2 separate regions of the Homo sapiens genome follow, and region 2 is linked to region 1. Evidence: promoter capture Hi-C in human tissues and cell types (Jung and others, 2019). All regions are on one chromosome and are shown on one strand. Each heading gives the region's core, a stretch centred on a gene start or on the middle of the fragment in contact. The rest is flanking DNA. Distances are from core to core; before and after follow the strand shown. Region 1 holds the start of KIF1A (kinesin family member 1A). Region 2 overlaps SEPTIN2 (septin 2).

Region 1 (2,620 bases), core at 106-2,605:
ATAAAGACCCCAGCCCCAGAAGCCCAGATGGTTTTATTGTTTCTGCCAGGGTTAGGAAGAACAATTGATTTCTCTTTCATGCCGGCGGTTCCAGGAAATAGTGAAGGAGGAGGAGCTGTCTAGCTGGTTTCGGCGGGGCTGGGGCTGGGAGTGGGGGGCCCGTGTCTTGCAGAAGTGGATGTGAATCTCCCCCAGCCACCTGCAAGGCGCTCGCACGCAGCTGTCGGGACTGAGGTGAAGCCGGCTCTCCCAGGAGTGTGGATGAAATGGTTAACGGCGAGGCCGCTAGGGCAGCGCAGGCCCCTGCTGGGCGCCAGGGAGGCTTAGCCAGGCGACGCCAGGATGCCCATGGCAGGGGCTCGATGGCAGGGGCTGGGCTGGAGGGGACCCAGCCCCGGGGTTCAGGGTGGCCCGAAATCCGTGCACCCCCGCACCGCAGTGCGGGGAGGTTCCCATGGGCGAGCTGCCCAGAGGCTTTGTCGAAGTTGCCCAGCCCTGGGACGGTGGAGGGAGGACGGTGGCGCGCACAGAGATACCAGTCAGCCCCTGGAACTAGGAAGGCGGCTGGGGGCGGGTGACGCAGGCTGGGGTTTGCCGGGGTGGCCCCCGAGCGGCGTGTGACTTGGGGGTCCAAGGAAGTTAAACTGGACAGGCTGGGGTGAGGACAATGGGGGCCTGGAGAGGTGGGGCGAGAGGAGGGCGGGGGGTCCCCACGAGCCGCGGTAGAGGCGAGGCGGCGGGTCCGCGGGCGGGTTGCATCATCCGGCGGGGAGGGCCTGGGTCACTGCTGCTCTTCCCCCGGCGCCCCGGCCCCGACACAAGATGCGATTTCACCGCGCACCTGTTACACCCGGAGCCAGCATCCCTGGCGCAAGGAGCCCTCCCTCCCCAGCCCCGCCCGCCCCCCACGATGCGTCTGTCGCTGGCTCAGAGCGGGGGCAGGTGGACGTTTTACGATTTCACTCGAAAGGGGCCAGGGTGGGGGACGGCCCGGCGAGGGGTCCGCGGGCAAGTTCAGGTGCACGCGGGGCTTCGGGACGGGGCGCCGCCGGGTCCCTCCCCCGCGAGGTCTCAGGGGCACGCCGGGGGAGGGGACGCTGCGTCCGAGCCGGGTGTCGGTCCCCCACCCTCCGCGGGGCCCGCCGCGGTGTCAGCGGTGACGTCACAGCCCGGCCCCGGCCCCCTCCGTCCCCAGCCCCATCCCCGCGGCGGCCGCGTCGCCCGTCCCTCTCCCCGCGCGACAAACCAGCTGGCGACTGGAGCTCGGACGCCGCGCGCAGCCAACCAGCGCCTCGGGAGGGGCGCGGGGCGGTCCGGGCCGGGGGCGCGCAGCCCGTCACGCGGCGGCGCCGTCACAGCGCAGAGCAGCCGGCGAGCGGCAGCAGCTCCGGGCTCGAGAGCCCGCGCCCATGCCAGTGCCCATGCGGGGCCGCCGCCAGTGACGCCGGAGAGGTAAGGCCGCCGCCCGCCCGGCCTCCCGCGCCCGCGCCCCTCGCCCCGCACCTGCGCCCGGCAGCCCGCGCCCGCAGCCCGCACCTGCACCCACTGCGCCCAGGGCGGGGAGCTCCGGCCCGGCGCCCTTGTTGCCGCCCAAAGCGCAGGCACTGCGAGGCCCCTTCACTTCCAGACCTTCCTCCATCTCCGCAGAGAACAATGGGGGAAATTCAGGGGTGTCCGCCCTTCAGGTGCCGCTGGAAAAGGTCCCTTTGCCGCGATCTCGGCTGCAGCGGGACCCTCGGCTTAGGCGGGCGGGGGTCGCCCTCGGGAGGGCTCGCCCGGCCGGCGGGATCGGGATACCCCCGCCCTTCCCCGGCTATTCCGCTTCCCTGGAGAGGAGCCACCGGCGGGGCTGCGGGAGGGGCTGCGCCCAGACGGCGGGGGAGGGGAGGGATGGTGAGCGGGGCTGAGGACGCTGACGCCGCACCTGGGAGGGTGCGCGGCTGCAGCGCCTCGGCCCGAGGGGAGAGCGCGCAGGGCGGCCGGGCGCGGGCAGCTGCTCCGGTTCCCGGGGTGGGGGAGGGCGGATGCTGGAGCCGGGAGCAAAACAGGCGGGCGGGGCGGGGGCTGCGGCGTTGGGGCCTGGCCACCCGCTTCGTTGCACGGCCGGCCTGCCCATCACCCCCTCCCACGCCAGAGACCCCAGCTCCCTTCCAGAAAGACCCAGCACCTGGGAGGGGCCGCCGGCGAGCACTGCCTGCGTCTCAGCAGCCAGCGCCCCTGTAACAGGTGTGGCCCGGCGGCGAGGGAGGGGCTGCGGGGCCGCAGGGTCTAGGCTGGCGGCGCGCCCCCGGCGCCCGGGCTCGGATGACACGAAGGAACAGTGGCCGCGAAGACCTTCGCACTCCCGCTTTAAGCCGCTCCTCACGCTGACTTCCCCCAAACCAGCCGCGCTGCCCTCTCGCTGGGAAGGGCCGGGGCAGCATCCCCGCCGGGAGGGAGGGTCCGCAGGAGCGGGGCGCTGGGCGCCGGTAGGTGGGGTTGGGGGGGCCCTGCCGGCCGCAGGGGCGGGAGGGGGAGGGGAAGGAGGGAATGCCAAGTCATGGGGCCTGCTGGGCGCGAGCGCGACGTCGCCCGGCGCGGACCCGATGCGCGCCCACGTCCCCGGGAATAGGGACTTTCC
Region 2 (2,620 bases), core at 36-2,535, 530 kb before region 1:
AACTTTAAGTTAATTACCAATGATATCTACGGATGTAAACAAAACACCTTCAGTCACAAGAATAGTACTTTTTGGCTGGGCACGGTGGCTCACACCTGTAATCCCAGCACTTTGGGAGGCCAAGGTGGGCAGATCACCTGAGGTTAGGAGTTCGAGACCAGCCTGGCCAACATGATGAAACCCCGTCTCTACTAAAAATACAAAAACAACTAGCCAGGCATGGTGGCGGGCACCTGTAGTCCCAGCTACTCGGGAGGCTGAGGCAGGAGAATCACTTGAACCCGGGAGGCAGAGGTTGCAGTGAGCCGAGATCACGCCACTGCACTCCAGCCTGGGCAATGGTGCAAAACTCTGTCTCAAAACAAACAAAACAACCAACCAACCAACCAACCAATAGTACTTTCCTACTTACCTCAGCTTCTTTTTCCAGCAAGATCTGGTCTTTATTCATGTCCTCATTCTCCACTTTCCTAAGAATCGAAAGAAATCAGAATCATAACACTGCAACAAATAGTTATTTGCTACCCCCCCAAAAAATTCTACTTTAAAATTTAAAATGACATGTATTTATCATTTCTCTTTTTATATTGAGATGGTGTCTCACTCTGTCGCACGGGCTGGAGTGTAGTGGCATGATCTTGGCTCACTGCAACCTCCACCTCCTAGGTTCAAGCAATTCTCCCACCTTAGCCTCCTGGGTAACTGGCATTACAGGCACGTGCTACCACGCCCAGCTAATTTTTTTTGTGTTTAGTAGAGATGGGGTTTTGCCACGTTGGCCAGGCTGGTGTTGAACCTCAAGTGATCCGCCCACCTTGGCCTCCCAAAGTGCTGGGAATACAGGCATGAGCCACCACGCCCAGCCTATCATTTTTCTAATTAAAGATATAATGAATAAAAAGGGAACAGAATGATTTTAAAAAGTTCGAACAACATGAAATGGAACATTCAAGAGACTTTTCTTACTCTAAGCTTGAGCGACAACACTTGCTGTTACCCACTCAAAAATAGGTATTATCTGAAGAATTTGCTTTGAGATGTTATTCTTTATTAATGCGAATGTAGTCACCACATTTAAGGAGCAGGATCTGCGTGAGTGAACGAGGGGCAAAGGGTAAGCTCCCCAAGCACACCTGAGAACTGTGCTCTGCAAAGCACACTAATCTCCATCTCAGGGCCAGCGCCTACTCAGCTTCCAGAGGGTGGAATTTTCTTGCTGCCTCTAAAATCTTTCTTAATGTCTCATTTCCAAACTCATAATTAGACTTCAATGTGTACAACATATGTATCTAGAAATCCATCAAATTATTAGAATGTGAGAATTTTAATGAATTACAACACAGGAAACTTTTGTTGTTGAGACAGGGTCTCACTCTGTTGCCCAGTCTGGAGCGTGGTGGTGCGACCATAGCTCACTGCAGCCTGGACCTACTGGGCTCAAGGAATCCTCCCCCTAGTAGCTGGGACCACAGGCATGCACCACCACATCTGGCTAATTTAAAAAAAATTTTTATAGAGGCGAGGTCTCCCTATGTTGCCAGGGCCGGTCTCAAACTACTGGGTTCAAGTGATCCACTTGCCTTGGCCTCCCAGAAAACTTATATAAAAACATATTAGAATGGTTAAAAAGAAAAGGTGAGTGAGGATGGCTGCAGGACTTTGCGAGGATCGAAGCTGCTGCTTCAACGGCCACTGGCTGCTTGGATGCCACTCATCCTGGCCTCACCCTTAACTCAGGTGCTGCAGTTTCCTAATGGCAACAAGTTTGTCCTCACGTACAGAGTGATGCTTTTGAAGGAGAACTCGACACAAGCCTCTGGCCTTTCCATCTAAAGTTTTTGTTTGTTTTTTGAGACAGGGTCTTGTTTTATTGCCCAGGATAAAGTGCAGTGGTGCAATTATGGCTCACTGCACCTCCCAGGCTCAACTGCTCCTCCCAACTCAGCCTCCCGAGTAGCTGGGATTATAGGTGTGTGCCACCATGCCCGGCTAAATTAATTTTTTTTTTTTTAAATTTTTGTAGAGATGGGACTTCACCATGTAATCTCATGGTCTCAAAACTCCTGCGCTCAGGCAATCTACCTTGCCTTGGTCTCCCAAGGTGCTGGGATTACAGGCATGAGCCACCGTGCCTGGCCTAAAGTTTTTACGTGCATATCATTAAATGTACTTTTTCTTAAAAAGGCTAAAAGAGCATAATTTGATTAAATTAACAACTCTTTTATAATAACTTTTGAGTAGGAAACCAAACCATGTTGCTTAATGGTCAAGAAGGCTGAGCTGAACACATAGAGGAGGAGGAACATTGTGGCTCAGGGTGACACAATACAGAGAAAGGGGCACAGTGTGATGACCTGCCGCCTCTCTTGAGTCTCTCAGAACGGAAGTTTTCATAATGAAGGTCCTGGGTCACCTCCTGGAGATCCTGCATGTGGGTGCTGAAAGAGAAGAGGAATGCACCAAGGTGGCATCATGCACATGACATTCTCATGAGAAAAAAAACCACCCATCAAGTACATAGAAGAAATAGCAGTAATTAAAATTACTTGGTAAATTGTACATAAAGCTGCTGGGATTTCAGGATAATGAGTATGGCCGTGGAAATGTCTAGTGAGGTGTA

Evidence for each region. Contacts are between HindIII fragments. The study calls those that stand out against the background at their distance.
Region 2: a contact is called between a fragment that was not itself captured here and the fragment with the promoter of KIF1A in region 1, in 1 of the 25 tissues and cell types used here (dorsolateral prefrontal cortex).

The regions. Positions count from the first base shown.
Region 1 is chr2:240,818,954-240,821,573 of GRCh38, reverse strand. KIF1A (kinesin family member 1A) reads left to right here and starts at 1,355. Exons shown (of 49, transcript NM_001244008.2): 1 at 1,355-1,452. RefSeq lists an enhancer at 369-943. The HindIII fragment of the contact is 12,815 bases long and covers 1-2,620 here.
Region 2 is chr2:241,345,984-241,348,603 of GRCh38, reverse strand. SEPTIN2 (septin 2) reads right to left here. Exons shown (of 13, transcript NM_004404.5): 10 at 2,355-2,438; 11 at 413-470. Among named protein-coding and RNA genes, the nearest start is that of FARP2, 9.0 kb to the left of the region's middle. The HindIII fragment of the contact is 3,473 bases long and covers 1-2,620 here.